7 separate regions of the Homo sapiens genome follow, and regions 1, 3, 4, 5, 6 and 7 are each linked to region 2. The links are contacts of gene promoters, found by promoter capture Hi-C in human tissues and cell types (Jung and others, 2019). All regions are on one chromosome and are shown on one strand. Each heading gives the region's core, a stretch centred on a gene start or on the middle of the fragment in contact. The rest is flanking DNA. Distances are from core to core; before and after follow the strand shown. Region 1 overlaps LINC01483 (long intergenic non-protein coding RNA 1483). Region 2 holds the start of KCNJ2 (potassium inwardly rectifying channel subfamily J member 2). Region 3 overlaps LINC01483 (long intergenic non-protein coding RNA 1483). Region 4 has its middle 390 kb from the start of KCNJ2. Region 5 overlaps LOC124904100 (a long non-coding RNA gene). Region 6 has its middle 370 kb from the start of KCNJ2. Region 7 has its middle 440 kb from the start of KCNJ2.

Region 1 (3,073 bases), core at 538-3,037, 430 kb after region 2:
ACCCAAAAGCAAATGCCAAAAAAAAGAAGAGATAAATAGCTGAGACTTAACTAAACTAAAGAACTTTTGCACGGCAAATGGAACAGTCAGCAGAGTAAACAGACAACCCACAAAGTGAGAGAAAATCACAATCTATACATCTGACAAAAGACTAATATTGAGAATCTACAATGAACTCAAACAAACTAGTAAGAAAAAAACAAACAATCCCATTGAAAAGTGGGCTAAGAACATGAATAGACAATTCTCAAAAAAGATATACAAATGGCCAACAAACATAAAAAAATGCTCAACATCACTAATAATCAGGGAAATGCAACTCAAAACCACAATGCAATATCACCTTACTCCTGCAAGAATGAGCATAATAAAAAAATCAAAAAACAGTAGATATTGGTGTGGATGCAGTGAACAGGGAACACTTCAACACTGTTGGTGGAAATGTAAACTAGTACTACCCCTATGGAAAACAGTGTGGAGATTCCTTAAAGAATGAAAAGTAGAAAACCATTTGATCTGGCAATCCTACTACTGGGTGCCTACCCAGAAGAAAAGAAGTCATTATACAAAAAGATACTTGCACATGCATGTTTATAGCAGCACAATTCGTAATTACAAAATCATCAGACTAACCCAAATGCCCATCAGTCAACGAGTGGATAAAGAAATTGTGGTATATTTATATGATGGAATACTACTCAGCCATAAAAAGGAATGAATTAATGCCATTCACAGCGACCTGGCTGAGATTGGAGACTATTATTCTAAGTGAAATAACTCAGGAATGGAAAACCAAACATTGTATGTCCTCACTGATATGTGGGAGCTAAGCTATGAGGATGCAAAGGCATAAGAATGATACAATGGACTTTGGGGGAAGAGTGGGATGGGGCGAGGGATAAAAGACTACAAACATAGTGCAGTATATACTGCTTGGGTGATGGATGCACCAAAATCTCACAAATCACCACTAAAGAACTTACTCATGTAACCAAATACCACCTGCACCCCAATAACTTGTAATATATATATATATTTTATATATATTTGTATATATATGTAATATATATGTAATATATAAATTATATATAATATATATCATATAAATATTAAATATATATTATTAAATATATATAATATATTTATATATCTGTTTTATATATATATATAAATAAAAGAAAATGCCCTTTGTTTGGAGATGAGTGATCCTACCTCTCTAATGCTGTCTCTGAACCCGAGTCAATTTTTAACTTCAAAATGAAGTTCAGAGCCTGCTTCACTGGAAATTCACATCTTGTCCATCAGCTCCTTCAAACTAAAATTGATACTGATCTTGACTTGTTTGCTTTAAAGCCCCTTTAGAATTGTTTTCCTCAGTTGCTTTTCATTCTGCTTCTTTTTAACTTTAAATTTGGCACCTCCTTCTTGACTTGATTCATGCTTTCTTTGCATAGAGTTCACCACGGTCTTCCTCCACCAGGGTCATGATAGTGCTGGAAATAGAGTCCTTGTCTTTATTGAGGAGGAAAAGTAGGCATCAGCTAAGTACTCCCTACAAAGTCATCCTACAAAGTCATCTTGTAGGATGACAGATTGTGATCAGAGTTAAGAAGGAGATTTACAGATGCTGTTTGAGGGAGTGACAGGGTAATCTGAGTAAGTCTGGAAATTAGGGAAGAGAGTAAGCATGAGCTGAGATTTGAAGGATAAGAAGCAGTTAACTTTTACAGAGACCAGTGGGAAGAGCATTCCAGGAAGCTGGAATGGAATGTGCAATGGTCTTGTGGCAAGAAGAATCACATGCATTAGACAATCAGAAGAAAAGACCAGCAGAAAAGACTGAATTGTGGAGAATGGGTTTGTGAGTGCCTGAGAGATGATACTGGTGCCAAATCAGGTAGGACCTTTTCGGCCATGCTAAGAAGGCTGACCTCAGGAAGCACGTGTGATCTTTATCCCAAAGATAATAGGATAGTATTAAATTAATTTAAGCTTGTCATGATTAGAATTGCCATGTATATAGAACAGATTGAGGATAGGGGAAAGGGACCCAGGGACGGATGCAGGGAAATCAATTAGGAGGCAAGAGATACAGAAGGCACAGTAACCACTTTTGAGGTTCTCTGAGTTTATATGGGAAAATTATTAGCAATTAATAAAGCAAGACTGCACTTCTCCCACTCACAAGGAAAGATTAAATGATCTGTAGTAATAGAAATCACTATCTCCAACATCAACTACAAAGTTAACTTTTTATGTATTTTCCTAGTAATTTTTCCCTTCTGTATGACAGAAATAACCCCTTCCTTAATGTCCACACCTAAATATTAAAGTATAATTACACAACGATCATAAGAGAAAATGCCATAAAAATATGTGACATTGCTGCTGCCTGTGATGACATTTCAAATTGGAGCCTGCACTGGAGATAGTAACATATTTAGGGAAACTATGTACAAAAGCAAGCTGGAAACTATTGTGTCTGTGTTCTCTTAAATGCAGCAACAACAGTAATAATGGTCTCTATAATGCCACACCTGAAAGAGAAATTTGGGGAAATAGCCAACCTTGGCTAGGAAGCAAATTGTAGAGGGTGGTACAGTCAGTTTGTCCAAGGCTGTGGAAGACTGGCTCCTGGCTGCCCACAATCTCATAGTCACATGTTGCTTCAGGCTTCAACAAGCTTAGTACAGTCATAGGCAGGAAATAGCAAAGTCAAAGGGATTAAGTGACTCTGCTGCCTGCATGTGTGTTGGCCCTATAGCAGACTCAGGAGCTGCCAACTGGCACTCGAGCTGCAGCTTCCATCTTAAAGAGAAGCAAGCTGTCCCCTTACACAAACCCAAATTTCCCGCTTCTGAATTAACCTGTCCTGGAAAGCCATCCTTGGCTTTGCAAACATTGGTAAAAACACAGCCCATCTTTTCTCCTCTCCCCACTGTGCATCTGCAAATCCCTACTGGGCACAAATGCAAAACAGTTGCCAATGTCCTTTTTGGGATTTGTAGGGCAAGCAGCCAACTGGCTGCCTGTAGGTTATTCACACTGCAATAGGGAACAAATTTCTTGCTGC
Region 2 (3,318 bases), core at 284-2,783:
CGCAAAAGTCATACAAGGACGCTACAGCTAACCAGAGATTCTACAACTCAGGAATCCAAAGGATGTAGAAAGACTGTGTTCTTTTATTTTTTTTAAAAGCAAAATTCACATGAGTTTAGATCAAATATTTCTTATGGAGACCAAGAACATTAAAAAATAAAGTGTCATTAAAATATGAGAGAGGAGGAAGCTAAGTAAAATGGCCTTGACCTTATCCTCACCCTTTCCACCATGCTTCAATTAACATCTCTTACCCCTTCTGAGCACCAGGATTTTTCCAGATAATGGCAAATAGAAATGAAACATTTGGAAGTGAGCAGGAAAACGCTAACAAGTGTACAGATAATGTACAGCAGACACACAACATTGGTTGGCGAGAGGAAATCTGGCAGCCTATTGATTATTAATGTGAAAAGAAAACAAATGATAAAACGCAATATGGTTTCTTTGCATATCCGAGGTTTTCAAATAACACCTTATTTCCTAACAGGTAAAATCTGAATTTATGAAAATCGTCGGAATTCACAGCCTTTTATCCTAGTGATCATCCTATGATATCCTTACCCAGACACAGACATTAAACTGCCCATTCCCTATCCCTATTTTTTTTCCAATTGTCATGATGAATCCACGCTATGATGCAATCTTTTTGCAGAATCAAGTCGTTTTGACTATTTTGCTTTCCTAAAACCACACTGTCTTCAAGCCAGGTATTAATACCATTATTACTGAAAATAACAAATTGGTTAGGGGAGAGTGATATGTAATGTGAAAGTTTTGCGATCCTCAGGCTCAAATCCAACTCGGGCTCCCGCTCTTCTTTCAGGAAGGCAACTTTGAGACACTCACTCTGTTTGAAACTCACAGCTATACTTGAAGCAATGACGAAAAAAAAAAAAAGCCAAGGATCAAGAATAGTGCTGAGTCCCAAGCTTTGCCAAGGTTTAAGACCAGGGCTCAAGACGCACCCCCAAACCCGCAACCACGTTTTCTTTCTTTTTTTCCCCACTTAGAGTGAGAACCGAACACAGACGCTCTCGCCCTTGCCTCCAAACCCAGTATCTCGCTACAGCTGGTGCATTGGAAGTTATGAGCACAAACAGATGCTGCAGAGAAATCTGTTTCTATTGCTCAACTGTTCCAAGCATGTCTCAGTATTTTTAGCTCTGGGGATGTTCTGGTGCGCACACAAACTATATAGGCATGATCTGGGACTCCGGAGTGTGGGTGAGCGCTACAGCAGTGTGACAGCTGGGCACCTCTGGAGCAGCGGGGCAGGGTAGGGTAGGGGACGGCGGCCAGAGTCCATTCCCCAGGACACACCGGCAGCGAGCGAAAAGGAAGAAAACACAGCAGCCCTTACCTGTTGCTGGCGCAGGAGCATGGGGACATGGAGTGGAAGTGGGGGGTACAGAGGCATGTAAGATCCAGTGGTTTGTAAAAAGCGAGTGAGCCAAAGCAAACCAGAATTCCCAAGACCCAGCCCGCCGGCGCCGGGAAGGCTGCGCGCTGGCCAGGGCTCCAGTGCGCTCTGCAATATCCTGGGCTCTTTTGAGGCGGTCCGTGCGACACCGGCTCTCCTGGCCCCGCCCCCGGCCGCTGCCGGCCAATCGCAGCGCGCCTGGCCGCGCGGCCGGCCCCGGGAACCGCGGCGGGGAGGGGAGGATGCTGCGAGGCGTTGCCAGCGGAGGGAACCTGCCGCCGCCTCGTCCCCCTCCACCCTCGGAGCCCGGCCGGGGAGTCGGGCCCGGGCCGGGGAGGAGGAAGTTGCGGCCCAGCTGGGACAGCAGCAGGTGGGAAGCTCCGCGCCCGGCTGTTGCGGCTGCCTGATTGCAGCCTGGCCTTGGGCAAAGCTTCCTACTCCGTCTGGAGCCCCACACACTTCCCGGTTCCCCCGCTCTTGGGCCGCTTGCCCTGCGTGCTCCTCGAGGGGCCTGCGAGGTGCCAGCGCCGGGTAGAGACCTTTGCCGCAGGGGCAGGATTGTTCGTCGGTCCCGGCGCGTCTCCCTCTCCACTCCCTCTCTGCCGGAGCCCCTCGGCCCTTCGAAGCCCCCCGCGGAGGCTGCAGCGCCCGGAGAAGCCACTGAGTCAATGGGGCGAGGGACTGGGGCGGGCGCGCAGAGCCCCCAGGATTGAGACGCGCGCAAGTGCGGCCACTGCAGCGCCGCTTGGCTGTTTGTTCTCCCGACTGTTCGCGAATTACTTACAAGGCGCCTAGGCTTCTCCGAAGGGTGGACGGCTCGTTCCCTCTCGCCTTGTCCGCCCTCAGTCTCTCCACCACCGCCCGGCACGCTTTGCTGATCTAAAATCAGAACAATTAGAGAGTAATGATTTTTTTTGGAATAGCAACTCCTACAGACACTCAGATCTGCCCTCGCTTCAGCGCCTCCCAGCCCTCCTTCCCAGCAGCCAGGCGAGAGCGCGCAGACCCCTAAAAAGCAACTTCAGTGTTAACCGGGTCTGGATCCTGGAACTTTATAAACTAATCCGTGTGTGTGTGTGTGTGTGTGTGTGTAAACCGAAGAGTAAGTGCCTATTATTTCTGAGTACTTCGGTGTCCTAACGAAGCTTTGCTCCTAAAGGACAGGATATATTTTAGGAGTCTTTCTTTCCACTGAGTTTTTTAAATGTTTATTTTCTCGAGCGATCAAATGTGTCTTTTGTGCAGTTTATTTAAACCTCGTAAGGCCTCCTTGAGTCGCTGAACTAATTCAGCAAACTAGCTGGTATTGTGGACGGCGCAGTCGGGGTGGATTTTTGTGTGTAGGAGAGGTGAAACTGACAATTCAAGGAAAGGTTCTGTGCGAGTCCCCACCTCCCATCCTCATATCCACACGTGGCCCCTAGGAGGTGCTGGTGAAATATGCTTGCTTAGGTTTCGCAGATCCGCACTTACTCCTGCCTTAACAAGTGTGCCTTTTTTCTTAGCACTGAGCAAGGTACTTAAATTAAAAGGGTGTGCAAGAGATGATGCACTCGGTGTGGCTGCTCTGATAGCCAAATGGCGATGTGGTCCCAGTTAATGTGTTGAGATTATACTGTTCACCAAGCCCTGTTACGAACTCTGTTGCCATGCACGTGGGAATAATGCCTGCCCCAAGGGAGGTCTTCTTTAACATCTATTTAGTCATGTGTTATTTATAAACAGCTTGAATTAATACTGTAAAATAGACGGATGTCTAAGAATCTAGGCTGTAGCCTAAAGCTAAATGAACCTGAGGGTAGACAAGTTCACTCTGTATTAACCAAAGGATAATGAATGAGTTCACCGCTCAGTTCAATAAGCTTCTTCTGAAATATGCTTCCTCCTGGACTTCT
Region 3 (3,205 bases), core at 348-2,847, 450 kb after region 2:
ATCTGTGTTACACTCAATATTTGCAGAGGCAAAATAGTGAGCTTCTCTAGAGAAACCCTAGCAAGTGATAATCAAAAGTATCGAGGAAACAAATGAGAAAAGAAGATAAGTTGGGCAAATCACATTCGTATTTTAGAAAAGCGAAGTTGAAAGAGACAGATTTAAGGCGAACTCAGAATTATACAATGGAAAAATACTGCACTGAAGATTAAAGGCCTGCCTGGCAAATAGATAATGCCAAATTTGATGAGAAAATACATTACATTTCCTTTTCTTTGAAATCTTAGTTGATATTTTCCACTTTAACTGGAAAGAAATAAGCTCTAAGATGTCAGTCAACACTTGGAAAGAGAGGCCTCCCTTTCCAGATACAAAAACATGGAGGAAATGCCTAAATGTTTTTTCTATGAAGCACAAACCCCTGGAAAGTTCAAGATCAGCTCACAGGCTGTGAAAAAAAAATCTGCTTCGGGCCTTTTGTTTGGCTGTTAACATTTTTTTCTCTCTAAGGAAAACTGCTGAAGGGGCTGGAAGCAGGAGAGAGAGGTGGGTGAAAAGAATATACTTTCCCTCTGCTTTTCAGACAGGTCCTCTCCCTCAGGGCCTTTGCTTTGATCTTGCCTTTGTATTTACTTGTTACCTGGGCTTTAATTTACCACCAGGTAACTGCTGACCTTGCTCTGTCTAACCTACATAGATTAGGGGAACATGCTCATGAACTTAGTCAAAATAATCTCAGGAGACCTGAGACATTTTCTCACTACTCTCACCTGGACCGTCTTGGATCACTGGACCCTTTGCTTGTCATCTATAACTCTGCAACTAAACTGAGTTAAACTCTCAGCTCTCTGTTATTTTCCCCCATTTTAGAAGCACCACAAAGATTAACCTGTTCGTTTCCAGCTGGATGCTATGTGCTCTGTGATCAGAGTCAATTTCATATATGTGCTACACAAGTCTCCAATCTTAAAAGGGCTCTGCTGATGGTTCCTTGAAATTCTTAATGTTTGAATAGTTGCACACAAGGCCAGCACGAGGCCCTGCAAATTATACAGCTGGTCTTGTGTGTAACTCTTTTTCCCTGCCTGAAATCCAAAAGCACAATCACATTCCTGATGTGACGTGACAAAATCCAGTCTAATGGGGTAAAACATGCATTATCAGTTGAGAAAGCACCTAGATTAAAAAGCTAAGCATAGCCAGCTGCAACTCCAGCCACACAGGCTGTCACGCTTGTTAAATATTCAGGAGCATGCACTCATTTGCTTGGTCACTGCACTAAGCAAAATAAAGGCCTCCAGTCATGTCACATGCTAACATCGAGGAGAACCAGAGACTACGGTTTGTATTAATTGAAAAGTCATGTCCGGACTTCAGCCCTTGCTTCCAGAAAGTTCAGGGCAAAACTCATGAATTCCAGGAATGCACGGAAAGAGAATCAAAGAACAAAACTGGATTTCTACCTAAGTTTAGAAATCAAAGGCTACTGATCTAATGCTTTAGCTGAAATCTTTTATTAGAAATGGCAATAAAACCCAACTAAACAGCTAGAACACAGATCATGTTTTATTCCTTTACATAATCATTTCTTAACTTCATGTTGACAAGAACAACGTGATCATGAGTTATATTATTTCCTGGCTTAGAGTAAAAATGCCTACCTTTTTACAGCTGGGGAATGATTTGTCACCCTTCCTCTCCATACCACACTTCTTCTCTTCCACCAGAAACCCATTATCTGTTGGAGGGACTGAGGCAAGGAGCTGAATCATATATTTTCCTAGTGTCCTTTACTTGTTACATCTGTCTTGTTAAACACAGAATGGAAACTGTTATGCTTTGGCTCTGTGTCCCCACCGAAATCTCATCTCGAATTGTAATCTCCATAATCCCCACATGTTGAGGGAGGGACCAGGTGGGAGATGATTTGATCATGGGCACGGTTTCCCCCATCTGTTCTTGTGATAGTGAGTTCGCACGAGATCTGATGGTTTTACAAGGCAGTTTTCCCTGCTCACTCTCTCTCACCCACCACCATGTAAGATGTGCCTCTTCCTCTTCCGCCATGATTGTAAGTTTCCTGAGGCCTCCCCAGCCATGTGGAACTGTGACTCAATTAAACCTCTTTTCTTTATATATTACCCAGTCTCAGGTATTTCTTTATGGCAGTGAGAAATCTGACTAATACAGAAACCTATGAGGCACTTGCTTCTGAGGGACCCAAGGGACCCAAAGGCAGGTTTCTATTTGAAGAATTTAAGACAAAATTGTTGTGGCAAGATTTTCAGAGGGGGTCAACTACATCTACCAACCTTATCACACGCTTGTACCTCAAACTCTTAGTGTAGACCTGTGTTAAAATCACAGCCCCATAATCAAACAAATTCAGACACCAACTGGATATTAGATGGTAGTTTTTAAAAATCATTGTTTTAATTTAGGTATAAAGTGATGTTTTCACTATACATTAAACAAATATTTCTCTTTTGGAAATATATAATGAAATATGCTATCTATAACACATCATAGCATCTGCTATGTGGGGAAGGACTGGAGTAAGGCTGGTAGAGATGAATAGAATTGTTTATGAGTTAATAATTTTTGAAACTCAGCGATGCGTTCAGGAAAGTTAATTGTGATGTGCTTTCAACTCTTCTATGCATATGAGATTTTCCATAGTGAAAATTATAAAAAATATATTTTGATGTGTTACATGTTATTGTGGTCCTGATGCTACCATTTCTCAGCTGTGGAATATCAGGCAAATAGCTCTCTGAGCCTGTTTCATCTGTGTACTTTTCATAGTCATAGCTACCTCTTGGAGTAACGAGAAATGAATGAGATAGTATGTATGAAGTGACCAGCAAAGGGTAGTTACTCAGTGAAGGAAAAGGCATCTTCATCGTGGCCCGATTTCTTCTTCCACTCCAGATCATCCTTCAAGTAGAGTCTGCTACTGGCCCTCAGCTGAGTGTATACCTTTCTTTTGTCTGCTGGTCAGCCAGAGTCTAGACTGAGCTCCAACTTCTGCTTACTTTATGAAATCAGATAGGACTTTAAGAATTCAGCTTGCCGAGTGGAAAGATAAAGTCTTAATCTCCTGTGTGAGCTCCCTTCCAACTCCCACCCCTTCCAAAAGAACACAAATATACATTTGGATTTTCCATAAACAAGAGCACGTGCCAAACAGGTTTGTGTAGATTGC
Region 4 (3,425 bases), core at 544-3,043, 390 kb before region 2:
TCCTAAATGTAATCCATCAAACTATTGTACTTCATTGAAGAACAAAATCTATTTAATTGGGGGAGATGTTGCAGGGTGTGCATGATAGGTAAAGGATGCCACATTTACAAATAATAAATAAGAACATTCTTTAAGTTGCTTTGCAGGTGAATTTTTATATGGTCTCTATTAGCAAAATTTAAAAATGCAAGGTTAGCACTAAAGTAGAATTCCAACCATGTAAAGCAGAAATGCACTTTATCAAGTACTTCATACATTCAAGTGGAATATCTTAGTAAGTCTTCCCCTGGAAAAAAAGGGAATTTTACTTTCTGAAATATATGCATGCATTCCTGAAAAGCTGCATATAGAATCATTTTTATAGATTAAATACATTATGAAAGTTCGTTACTTACAGGTACATTATAATGATTTGAGGAGAGCTGATATCTCATTCATTGAATCTACTTAAATAAAGCACATTTTTGTGAGGCATATATTTTAGGTTTTATTTCTTTGGTTCAACCAAGATATTCATGCCAATACATAGATAAAATTAGTAAGTGAGAGGACTACTTAGAGGACTTTACATCAACATTATTTTATTAGGTAAGTACAAAGTTAATTATTAATTAATTTTGCCACCCAAAGCATAGATTAAAGATACATAATTTTTCACAAGGTAATAAGACCAAGGCAAGCAATTACGGCAAATGCACCTGAGACAATCTTGCTTGCTCAAGGCATTTTGTACAAAGGAAATAAATGTTCTTTCAATGCTTTGAAATATTGTCAGAATGACGTAGTTGTACAACAAAACATCAGACATGCAGGCAGTGGAGCTCTCAGATGTGCTAAGGATGACATAGAATAGACCAGAAGATCTCATCCTTGGCTACTCATTGTAACTACTTGGGGAGACTTAAATAATACTGATATCTGGTGGTCATGCCTAGAGATCCTGACTTAATTGGTCTTAGGCATGTCAAGGGCATGGCAATTTTGAAAGCTCCCTTGGTGATGCAAATGTGCCGCCACAGCAGAGGATCTCTGGTTTAGATTGATCTAGCAATTCTTACATTTCACTATGTGTAAGAGTCTCTTACATGCTTGTTAAAAAGTGCGTCTAGGCCGGGCATGGTAGCTCATGCCTGTGATCCCAGCACTTTGGGAGGCCGAGGTGAGCAGATCACCTGAGGTCAGGAGTTCCAGGCCAGCCTGGCCAGCATGGCAGAACCCTATCTCTACTAAAATAAAAATACAAACATTAGCCGGGCTTGGTGGCGGGTGCCTGTAATCCCAGCTACGCGGGAGGCTGAGGCACGAGAATCGCTTGAACCCAGGAGGCAGAAGTTACAGTGAACTGAGATCATGCCATTGCACTCAACCTGGGTGACACAGCAAGACTCCATCTCGAAAAAAAAAAAAAAAAAAAGTATGCCTAATCAGCTACCCAGGGGATTTCCGTTCAGGTGGTCCTTGAGCCATAGTCTAGGAAAAACAAAACAAAAACCTCCTGTCTTGTTTTACCTTATTTTTTAAGTCCTGGGCTTCTCACTTGGTGATGCCAACCTAAGCTATGTGAAAGTTCACTCAGAGTGCATAATTCTCAATTTTGGCAGTTCCCATCATTCATGGAAACAAAAACTTTCACAAAAGCTTCTGTACCATTGTGTTGCCACATGCAATGCCAAGGGCAATTCCAGATTCCCATAAGTTAGGCAAGTCTCCAGCCACCACCCCCCCATCAAAAAAAAGGCCAAAATAATGAAGTCGATTACACTCAGAAATAAACTACTAAATTCATGAAAGATCTTTTCTTTTTTAAATTATTTTTACTTTAAAATTTTATTTTAAAAATGTGTTAAGTCCATGACTCAACAATTCCACTCTCAGATGTTTATCCTAGAAGAATAAAAACATGTGTCTCCCAAAAAAACTTGTTCAAGAATTTTTCTAGCATTTTTATTTATAATTACCAAATATCAGAAAAAAAAACTAAATGTTTATCAACAAGTGAATGGAGAAATAAATTGTGGTATATGTATACAATGGAAGACTACTAAGTTGAAAAATAAAAATTAAAAAACATACAAGCAACTGATAGGCAAATAACACAAACTAATTCTCAAAGACATTATTTTGAATGAGGGAAGTATGAGACAAAAGAGAACATACTACATGAATCAATTTATATGAAGTTCTAAAATAGATAAAATTCATCCATGGTGATAGAGTACAAGAGGATTGACCAAATGTAGTGAGAGGAAAGGTTATGAGAAGATGGAAACATTTTATGTTTTGATTGGGGTGGTGGTAACACCCCACAACACATGTGTTATGGAAATGTGCTCAAAAACTACAATAACTAATATGTTGCCCTTAAAAACACATAGTACCTTTCTAAAGACATTTCTAATGACTTTTCAAAAGAAATGCATGTAAGGCCAGATTGAAATTCAAATGCTTCCTCTGTCAATCCCTTTTTAAAGGCAGTATTATAGCTAAATCATTACATTAAAAAAACTTTTAAAGAGGCTTTTCAGTTCAGGGAAGAGCATAGAATATTAGCCTAACATATGAATCAGCTGTTCCAATTCTTTTATTTTAGAGATGAGGGAACTCAAGCCTGCAATAATATATTCGGCATCACCCTGGAAGTTGCTGGTGTTGCTTTTCGCACTCAGCTTTTGTGACAATATATCTACTACTCTTTCTAATGCACATTCTAGTCTAGTTTACATTAATAATTAGGAATACTTAGCTAATACCTAATATGTGTGTCTTATCAAATCTCAAATATTCATGAAATACCTCTAACATGTCACCTTAAAAATATGTCATAGCTTTTCTCCATTGATTGATTAGTAAGTGGGTCATATATTTAAACTCACAGTACAACTTGGAGATGTATATATATATTATATATATATTCTATTATCTTTATTTTTGTGAATCACTTATCTAGCCTTCTGTCTTTAACCTTGCCTCATGGGTAGCAGAGTAAAATAATATAACTAATATACAATTGGGTAACTCAAACTAATTTTTAAGGTGATTCTTAGTTTTTCTTGAGAAAACACTTGGTTTCCTATAAAACCTTATAATGACAAAAAAGAGGGAAGTCAATATTAGCTTACTTTCTATATCTGCATAAAGAATACATATACAGTATAAACACACATACTCACATACTGCATGTTAGAAGATGAATTAATATTCTAACATGCAGCATTTTTCATGAATACTTTATATAATAAATCTTAATTTTCTCACACAAACAGAGGTCCCAATTGTACATTCATAAAGACAAAAAGCCTTATAAATAAAATAGCAAAAGAAGAAACATCACATTAATAATTATAAAAATCTCATCCATGATAGAATTAGTTATACAGAAAACAGATATTCAGATTCGGTTGTATTCCAGGCACAAGACTTTACAG
Region 5 (3,237 bases), core at 200-2,699, 330 kb before region 2:
TTTTTTTTTCCCCAATAATATATGTGCTGGTCTATAGCTATATAGTCTTCATAGTAGTTTAGTTTCTTCTTATCCTTTCTTCCTGTAATTTAGTCTAATTGTTAAGAGTCTTATGATGTCAGAAAAATTTTCCAGGTCTTGGAAATAGGTGGGCATGAGAGACTACTGGGTGCCCTTTCAGTGGAGATCTGGGCATTGTCTTGAGGCCCCTCCCTAGGGATTGTCTGATTCTACAAAGGTGTGCATGTGTGATTGATTTGCCATTATTAGCTATTTGACCATTTTGAAGGGGTAGAAGTTAAGCTGTGGGAAATCAGAAGCAATGCAAATGTTTCCTGTTCATTGCAATGCAAATTAACTTTCTCTGTTAGAAAATATGCATTCCACGAATCACGTTCTCATTTGAACCAGTTTTAACCTTTTAGTATTTTCATCATTAATTAATGAGTAGAATGAAATCTTTTATATGTGTTTACTGTATATGTAACAATTTAACTTTTTAAGAACACATACTTTAACAGTTGTCAGTCATTGGAGGGTCTATATTTCTTGAAGGTTAGAAATCACTTACTAAGCAGCTAATTACAGGACACAGAAATCATAAAAGCTGAACTTCTCAGTTATTCTTTGGACTCAGCATTTCTTGTCTTTCAGGAATACAATTGTCTAGCACATTTATATTTGGAAGCAATTCAAATCTTAATTTCAAGTTTCTTTAGAAAATGAAAAAAGGAGGCTACGACATTCTTAATGCACAGCTAAACTTCTAAATATTATCTTTCTTCTATCTCTGCCACAAAGGTGAGATCTCTGTCTTTTTGCTCCTCCTCCCCTCCTCTCTGCTTTCAAGTCCAAGCCGTTGCAGCAGAACAACTTAGAACTCAAGCACTAGCTCTAGTATCCCCACACTCCAGGTCTGGCTCTCAAAATCAGCATTAGTTTGGTGCAAAAGTAATTGTGATTTTTGCATTAGTAACAGCAAAATAAAATACCATAGTAATGGCAAAGCAATTACTAATGGCAAAACCGCAATTGCTTTTGCACCAACCTAATAGCTGTAAGTCTTTAAGAAAACTGCTTAACTACCCTCTGGCCCAGTTCCCTTTCTGATTTATAAAAATGGGATGATGATGATAAAAATAATAGTAACAATAATTCTGTTGTCAGAAAAATTTAATCAGCTACTAAATGTAAGTGCACTTCGAGAAGTACTTGATGCATTGAACCTCGATGAATGGGAACTGTGGCTTAGGGCTCTTCCACTAGTAAGAATAGACTAGAATGTATTTTCCATACAGGATCTTCTAATGTTCTATGTCTGAATATATGACTCTAATCTTGAAGAGGCATCTTTCAAATTTAGCAATACTTTTATCAGTCCTGGATCAAGATTGTGATTTCTTAAAGTATTTAACCAAAATAAATCAAAGCTCCACAACTTCTAAACTAATGCCCAAACCCTGACAGGTAACTTCTTTATGAAGCATCACTCCTGTATCTTAGTGTCTTGTAAGTGCAAAGCTCTTTAACGTTAACAAAATTTTCAACACTTAAAAAAATTACTGCACCAAAAATAAAACCAAGATTTTCTCATTATCTTTGACTCCACATAAGTTCTGCAATTGTGCCTTGGTTCTTTAATTTATATTTTAAATAAACATAGTTTCAGTCACATGGTTCCTCTTGCCTCAAATATTCAGTATTAAGTCTTCTGCAAGTTTTCTGTCTACTTCTTTCTCTATGCTCTCAGAAATCTTTGTACTTCTTTAATTCTAGCATATAACAGTTTTTCTTCTTTGCATTCTCAATAAGTTTTGTTGCTGATTCCCTAGGGTGAGGACTTTGTTTTCTGATCTGCACATAATAGCAATAAATATTTGTAGATTGAATACAGAGAGGAGAAGGTGGATACATGAACTATGGGACTAACATGATTTCTATTCCTTTTCCTATGCAAATCTCATCCTCCCTTTGATGTCTTTTTGGAATTTCAACTCGTAAATGAAGACCTCCTTGTTTATCTCAGACCTCAGGAATATTTTTTCCTAAAAATTTCTCCAGAATTAGAATCCACATTTATTTTTCTCCTTCTCTTCCTTCTTTGTATTATTATGATGATGCACTCTTGAACTGAATAAGTCTTCCTTCTACCCAACCCCTGGGAAGGTTTATAAGACTATAAGATTCAGGTGCATAAGGACAATGAGCTATAACTTGGTACCATCCTCAATTACTCATGCAGTATTACATTCAGTGTAGGCATTCAATAAGTTCAGGCTTAGTGAAGGTTGTCACTGAAATCCCATCAGCTCAGCAGGGAGCAAGGAGCCTCTTTGAAAGTAAGTAGCCAGGACTCAGGACCCTCCAAGGAATGTGTGATTTAATTAAACTTTTCAAGCTTCAGAGTAATTAGTTGCTGATCAGCAATATTACTATTTTGAGTTTCCAAATTATAAGCACCATTAACTACAAACAACTACATTCTTAGAAAAAAATAGAGGAGGAAGTACAGGAAAATAATGCAGAAGTTAAGAACGTAGGAACACACAGGCATTCAGTGCAGATGAAAAGACAGAAGGCGCAGAGTACATTTGAAACTAACATTGAGAAAGTGACTGCTGATAAGCAGATGTGCACAGAGCCTTACTCAATAAAAAGAGAAAGTTATGTTTTGACTGTAGGAACATTTGTTTTACAGAACTGCTGTACTTTTGAAAGTCTTGGATTATTATTTACAAATATACTTACATAGTATAAAAACAAAATGACACACAGGAAAAAAAGCTAAGAAGTAGTCTGGCTCCAGAGCCCAGGTCTAAGTTCTGATTCCTAAGCTCTCTTTTGTTCTTTGGGTTTAGATTGTTTTTCTTTCAGCCAAGGGATGAAAAAGAGTAACAGACAGGCAAGCTTCCCATTTTCCCCACAAAATGTAGGATACCCCACTACCATTAACTACAGTATACTTTCTGTATTTCTTTTTCAAGAGAAGTGTTGGATTAAGAAATGTACAGGCTCATCAAACAAAGACAGAATTCTGGCTACCATTTGGACCTCACAAGATATTTTTGGAAAGAAATCCTGGAACTGTGAGTGGAAAAAGGACAATCTAAGAGCAAAACCCATCAATGAAAACCAAATCCACAAGCACGTTTGATTCTGAAATCCCATCTCCGGTCTATAAAGTTTTTTTAAAAAGTATTTTTCATTTTTCTTGTAGTATGTCAATCACTTGTTAGA
Region 6 (3,237 bases), core at 161-2,660, 370 kb before region 2:
GTCCCAATCCAGATCCCAAGAGAGGGTCTTGGCTTTCGCTCAAGAAAGACGAATTCAGGGAGAATCCAGAGAGTAAAGTGAACGCAAGTTTATTAAGAAAGTAAAGGAATAAAAGAATGGCTACTCCATAGACACAGCAGACCCAAGGGCTGCTGGTTTCTTATTTTTATGGTTATTCCTTGATGACATGCTAAACAAGGGGTGGAGTATTCATGCCTCCCCTTTTTAGACCATATAGGGTAACTTCCTGATGTTGCCTTGGCATGTGTAAACTGTCACAGCACTGGTGGGAGTGTAGCAGTGAGGATGACCAGAGGTCACTCTCGTGACCATTTTGGTTTTGGTGGGTTTTAGCCAGGTTCTTAATTGCAACCTGTTTTATCAGCAAGGTCTTTATGAACTGTATCTTGTGCCGATCTCCTATCCCATCCATCATTTAGAATGCCTAAGCATCTGGGAATGCAGCCTAGTAGATTTCTGCCTCATTTTACCTAGCCCCTACTCAAGATGGAGTTGCTCTGGTTCAAACACTTCTGACACAATTGAAAAGGAGTCTCTAAAACTATACACCAGGGGCCAGGTGCGGTGGCTCATGCTTGTACTCCTAGCACTTTTGGAGATCAAGGCGGGTGGATTGCCTGAGCTCAGGAGTTCAAGACCAGCCTGGGGAACACGGTGAAGCCCCTGGCTCTACTAAAAATACAAAAAATTATTCGGGCAGGGCAGTGCGCACCTGTAATCCCAGCTATTCAGGAGACTGAGACAGGAGAATTGCTTGAGCCTGGGAGGCAGAGGCTGCAGTGAGCCAAAATCACACCATTGCACTCCAGCCTGCACAACAGAGTGAGACTCTGTCTCAAACAAACAAACAAACAAACAAAAACTATATGTAGGATCTTCCTTATGTCTCCCTTACATTTATCATTATGTTTAGCTCTAAGAACAATAACATATTTTAATTGTTAGAAATTCCTATCCAGTGGAAAAAAAATAAACAAATGAATAAATAGATATCACCCCCACCAACACACACATATATAGATACCAGTTCAGGCCCAGTTTGTGGTCTGTAGGTATTAGGGAGAACTGTAGCTCTTCCAGACATGTCTGACCCAGAGTAACTTTGTCTTTAGCTGTTTTACATTTAAACTCCTAGGAAAAATGTTACTTCGATAAATGTTGCTGTAGCTAATAACATTCGGAGTCTAGAGAATTAAGAAGCATCACTATATAACATATCACCTAAGCCAGGTACTTTTGAGGGTCCTGGGAAGTAGCAGAAAAATTACAAGACATCACTGTAATTCAGGACTGTCCCAGGTAAACTGGGAATTACACATCGTAGGTTGAAGTGGAGGTATCAGAATAACATTCAGCAGTGAATCTCAGAAACCCAAACTAACAGTGGCTTAAACAAAATAGAATAAAATTTTGTTTGTTTCTATGATTAATTTTTAACAATCCTTTTCTCAAATGATATTGTCCATGGCTGATAATATGAAGCCATGCAGATCCCATGTTCATTTCTGGTCCGAAATGATTGATTGTACCCCAGCCATAAAGGATGAAGATCTTGCCCTAAACCTTTGAAAAAATGTTGCACATAACACTTTGCTTACATTCCATTAGCCAGAACTAGTTACAATACCATATCTAACTATAAGAAAGTGATTCTCTGGCTATAAAAGTAAAAGAGACAATATTTGTAGAAACTAGTATTTTTTTTTTTTTTTTTTTACATTATAACATTTACTATTAGGTATGTGAATGGGCCAGATGTCTACTCAATATTACAGAAAAAATGGCAAAACCCTGTCTCTACTAAAAATACAAAAAAAAAAATTAGCCAGGTGTGGTGGTGCGTGGTCTGTAATCCCAGCTACTTGGGAGGCTGAGGCAAGAGAATTGCTTGAACCCAGGAGGCAGAGGCTGCAGTGAGCCGATATCACGCCACTGTACTCCAGCCTGGGCAACAGAGTGACTCCATCTCAAAAAAAAAAAAAAAAAAAAGGCAGGTAAGAAAGTGTAATTTGGTCCTTTTAATTATTTTACAATGTTCACTCTAACATTTGTTGCTACTCTCAGATGTTCAGTAGATGATAACTATTATTGAAATATAGTTCTTTTTGTTCAAAAAACTTAAAATACTTGTAGTGAAAGAAATTAACAATGCATAACAAAGAAGCATACACACGCAGACCACAGACACACACACACACACACACACACACCGTGCACGGAGTGTGCGATGTATCCTAGGTATTCCAGGGATGAGATAACATATTGTGTCCTGAAAAGGAAAGTGTCTGCTAGTCCTTGGACTTTATTTTGGACCTACAGAGAGAATGCTTCGGTTACAAGAAGAATAAGGAGGCAGATAATAAAAACGGGAGCAATAACTGAGTAGAAGTACAATAGCAAAGGGAGCCCAGTGGGAGAAAATAATGAACTTAGAGCATAGAGTACTTGTTAAGAAGTGGAGGTGAGGCCGGGCACAGTGGCTCATGCCCATAATCCTAGCACTTTGGGAGACCAGCCTGGGCAACACGGTGAAAACCCATCTCTACTAAAATACAAAAAATTAGCCGGGTGTGGCAGCGTGGGCCTGTCGTCCCAGCTACTCGGGAGGCGGAGGCAGGAGAATTGCTTGAACCCGGGAGGTGGAGAGGTGGAGGTTGCAGTGAGCCAAGATTGTGCCACTGCACTCCAGCCTGGGTAACAGAGTGAGACTCCGTCTCCAAAAAAAAAAAAAAAAAAAAAAAGAAAGAAATAAGAAGTGGAGGTGGAAGTAAAAGGAATGTAAAAGGAATGCATGGATAGAGCAGACTTTGATTCTCCCACAAGTACCTGTTGGCAGAGCTTTTGCATATATCTACATAAATTATGCAACCATTTGTGTGCATTCTGGTCACCAAAATAAAGAAAATAACTTATCAAACATTTAAATATATGAGAAAATTCCTAACGTTTTTCATCAATGGAGTTCTGTATCCATTATCATGTGAATAACTTTATGTACAGTGATCTCACACACATTTTTTAAGTAAAACATTCCCCTCTGCTATTTTGGAGACTCATATCTTCTAAGACGTGTTCTGAGATGAAGAAAAAGTTGTAGGTTGAAGGTTCTGAGATGAAGAAAAAGGTTGTAGGATGAAGCCGAGATTCTTCAATGCCTTTGCTTGGCAATTTGTCAAACATGTTGTGCAAAGGAAAACTTCTCAAGATGTGGTTGGA
Region 7 (3,247 bases), core at 349-2,848, 440 kb before region 2:
TACTTTAGACTTTATAAACACTGTACACTTAGGATACACTAAATGTATTTAAAATATTTTTCTTCAACAATAAATTAACCTTAGCTTACTGTAACTTTTTTACTTTATAAACTTTCTCACGTTTTTTAACTTTTTGACTTTTTTTGTAATAACGCTTAGTTTAAAACACTCATTGTACAGCTGTACAAAAAATATTTCTTCTTTATGTACTTATTCTATACACTTTCTTCTTTTTATTTTATTTTTTAATTTTAAAACATTTTTGTTAAAGACTAAAACACAAACACACACAGTAGCCTGAGACAACACACAGTCATGGTCATCAATATCACTGTTTTTCTTCTTCACCTCTTGTCCCGCTGTCTTCAGGGGCAATAACATGCATGAACCTGTCATCTTCTATGATAACAATGCCTTCTTCTGGAATCCCTCCTACAAGGACCTGCCTGAGGCTGTTTTACAGTTAACATATTTTTTGTAAGTAGGAGTATACTTTAAAATAACCATAAAAATATAACACAGTAAATACATAAACCAGTAACATAGTAATTTATTATAACAGTCTAGTATTATGTACTATACATAGTTGCCTGTGCTAGACTTTTGTAAGACTGGCAGAGCAATAGTTGTGTTTATACCAGCATCACCACAAACATGTGACTAATGCATTGTGATATGACTACAAAGGCTAAGAAGTCAGCAGGCTATAGCAATTTTTCAGCTCCATTATAATCTTATGGGACTACTTTCATACATGTGGTCCATCCTTGACTGAAACGTCATTATGTGGCACATGACCATATACATATATATATATATAATCTTACATTTGCAAAATTATCTGTAATTTGCAAATAAAAAAGAATTCGATGGGGGGTTCTTTTGGACTATTATATATAAGAAACAAACTTTAACAAGCAAAAGACTACTTGAATTAACTTCTTTCTGGAATCCCTAGTTGGGAGAAATTTTATTATTGACTCATGAGGTTTACATTCAAACTTTTTGCAGTGCCCTAGTAGGCTACATTGAATAATATGGCTGGACATAGTTCGAGGTTAAGAAAGAGATCAGGGTATGAATTTTCAGCTTTGGGTAAAATACCACCTTAGAGTCCATTTATTTAACATTTTATTGTGACTCATTCCAGAGTCTTCTGGGAACAAAATGTAAAACAGCCACTTGTAGGTCTAGGAGACAACCCAGTGGAGGTATGGCTGGTATTGGAAAAGTACAAGAACCTGGACACAAGGCTGTTGTAAAAAAAAATGCTGCTCTCCTTCCCTGAGTGGGTAGCGGCTTATTGACTGATGATGAGTGCAATGTCTAGACACAAAGGGTTAAGACCTCAGAAACCTGGGGGAAAATTATGGGGGAATAGTTCTTTCCAGCCCCTGAAGTTTCCCCCGATATAAACACTTCTGTCTTTTTCTAACCTTTAATCACTATTTTACCAGAAGTAATAAGATGATTCATCGAACTAGTAAATTTGAGGACAATAATTTGGGTGTACTGACTTCAGCTCTTCCTTTTTTCTTTTATTTACTTCTTCTTCTCCTCCTCTCCCATCAAAAAGTCAGTAGGTGACGTACCTCCATGCCCGATGTGTAACCTTTGTGGTCTTTGCATTTCAGGTCTGGTCTGGCATGTGCAGGTGGTTAAGTGTCTCAGTCTCATATTTACTTGGTAGGTTTATTTGGCTCAGACACTAAGCTACATCATCTCACTTAGTAGTTATCATGAATCAAGGTGAAAATTTTGACCCCATCTGCTTCTTTTTTTCACACTTTCTCAACATTTTTAGAACATGGATGGGAAAGAGGGATGCTATTTATTAAGCCTGCTGATTTCCTAGAAAACTGACATGAATCCCATTTGGCAGATGAAAAGATTGAGTCTTTTGAGTGTGAACAAGTCAACCAAGTTCACGTCATTAGCAAAGGAAAGGGGCCCATATTTGAAGCCACCTGTCTGGTTCTATAACCTACCCTTATAGCCATCTTGCTGATTTTTTGTTCTTTTCTTGTTCCTGGGTTGAACACATACTTTATTTCCTCATTAATGAAATCAGATTCTTTCTTTCAACGAATTAAGTACTTATTTGGTAACAAAACGAACTAGAATGCGTAGAAGGTCTCAGAATCCATTGCTCTTCTAAGCTAATGTTAACTCAAACAGAGATTGAGAAATGGAAAGAGGGAACAGGAAGAAAAGAGCAAAAGAAGAAACTTGGGAGCTGGAGAAGAGGACGTTTGGGAGGATGGGGTTATTGCAAATGTCTATTTATGCTTCTAACTCCCTATGGTGAGGAAATGATCATGAAAAATGACAACAATTTCTCTTCAAGTAACTTGTGTGGTAAAAGTGGAAAAAATAAGGGGCTTGGTTAAGTATTATGTATGTTGTTAATTACCACACACACACAAACACACACACACACATATACATATATACACACACACACACACACACACACACACGCATAATTATTTTTTATACAGGGTCTCACACTGCCACCCAGACTGGAGTGCAGTGGCATGATCTCTGCTCACTTCGGCCTCCACTTCCTGGGTTCAAGTGATTCTCATGCCTCAGCCTCCTGAGTAGCTGGGACTACAGGCATGCATCATCACGCCTGGATAATTTTTTGTATTTTTTGGTACAGATGGGGTTTCAGGGTGAAACGAGCCAGACTGGTTTCAAACTCCTGACCTCAAGTGATCCTCCTGCCTTGGCCTCCCAAAGTGCTGGGATTACAGGCATGAGTCACCACGCCCAGCCCATTTATATTTATTTGTAGTGATGGATTAAAAATGATATAAGACATCTTTGTCTCTGACATAGTTTTTAAAGAACATTTCTTTGTGGTCTATATTCATTTTCGTGCATTGAATGAGCTATGCAAAAATGTTCAAACTGAACGCAAGACTGGCCTAAATCAGAGAATGGGAAAAATCTTTTCAGCCTCATGGAGCTGCTGATGCCAGATAGCTCATTAGAAGTCAATCAACTAGAAACCACCAGGAATTGAGTAAGGATTTTTTTTTTCATTTCTTAACACAGAGGAATGATTTAAGCAGTTAGCGAGAAGGGCCAAGAAGCATCCTTTCAAAATAACTGTTGTTGTTAAGTATTCCTGTTGCCTTAGGATTGACAGTAAAGGGGAAAAGAAGTCCGGAATTACAGAATCCATGCAGCAACTTAGAAAGGTTTGCAGAAGATAATTAATAATATATATTAATATATA

The links. Contacts are between HindIII fragments. The study calls those that stand out against the background at their distance.
Region 1: a fragment that was not itself captured here is called in contact with the fragment with the promoter of KCNJ2 in region 2 in 1 of the 25 tissues and cell types used here (psoas muscle).
Region 3: a fragment that was not itself captured here is called in contact with the fragment with the promoter of KCNJ2 in region 2 in 1 of the 25 tissues and cell types used here (heart left ventricle).
Region 4: a fragment that was not itself captured here is called in contact with the fragment with the promoter of KCNJ2 in region 2 in 1 of the 25 tissues and cell types used here (dorsolateral prefrontal cortex).
Region 5: a contact is called between a fragment that was not itself captured here and the fragment with the promoter of KCNJ2 in region 2, in 1 of the 25 tissues and cell types used here (hippocampus).
Region 6: a fragment that was not itself captured here is called in contact with the fragment with the promoter of KCNJ2 in region 2 in 1 of the 25 tissues and cell types used here (dorsolateral prefrontal cortex).
Region 7: a fragment that was not itself captured here is called in contact with the fragment with the promoter of KCNJ2 in region 2 in 1 of the 25 tissues and cell types used here (dorsolateral prefrontal cortex).

Annotation. Positions count from the first base shown.
Region 1 is chr17:69,733,500-69,736,572 of GRCh38, reverse strand. The region is part of intron 3 of LINC01483 (long intergenic non-protein coding RNA 1483); the gene reads right to left. Among named protein-coding and RNA genes, the nearest start is that of LINC01483, 140 kb to the right of the region's middle. The HindIII fragment of the contact is 5,215 bases long and covers 1-3,073 here.
Region 2 is chr17:70,167,747-70,171,064 of GRCh38, reverse strand. It overlaps KCNJ2 (potassium inwardly rectifying channel subfamily J member 2), which reads right to left and starts at 1,533. Exons shown (of 2, transcript NM_000891.3): 1 at 1,364-1,533. It overlaps KCNJ2-AS1 (KCNJ2 antisense RNA 1), which reads left to right and starts at 1,663. Exons shown (of 1, transcript NR_036534.1): 1 at 1,663-3,318. RefSeq lists a silencer at 1,478-1,937. The HindIII fragment of the contact is 1,534 bases long and covers 1,394-2,927 here.
Region 3 is chr17:69,714,815-69,718,019 of GRCh38, reverse strand. All of the region lies in intron 3 of LINC01483 (long intergenic non-protein coding RNA 1483), which reads right to left. Among named protein-coding and RNA genes, the nearest start is that of LINC01483, 120 kb to the right of the region's middle. The HindIII fragment of the contact is 5,314 bases long and covers 1-3,205 here.
Region 4 is chr17:70,559,106-70,562,530 of GRCh38, reverse strand. No RefSeq gene overlaps it. Among named protein-coding and RNA genes, the nearest start is that of KCNJ2, 390 kb to the right of the region's middle. The HindIII fragment of the contact is 5,665 bases long and covers 1-3,425 here.
Region 5 is chr17:70,498,656-70,501,892 of GRCh38, reverse strand. All of the region lies in intron 1 of LOC124904100 (a long non-coding RNA gene), which reads right to left. Among named protein-coding and RNA genes, the nearest start is that of KCNJ2, 330 kb to the right of the region's middle. The HindIII fragment of the contact is 3,774 bases long and covers 1-3,237 here.
Region 6 is chr17:70,539,314-70,542,550 of GRCh38, reverse strand. No RefSeq gene overlaps it. Among named protein-coding and RNA genes, the nearest start is that of KCNJ2, 370 kb to the right of the region's middle. The HindIII fragment of the contact is 4,875 bases long and covers 1-3,237 here.
Region 7 is chr17:70,611,292-70,614,538 of GRCh38, reverse strand. No RefSeq gene overlaps it. Among named protein-coding and RNA genes, the nearest start is that of KCNJ2, 440 kb to the right of the region's middle. The HindIII fragment of the contact is 7,463 bases long and covers 1-3,247 here.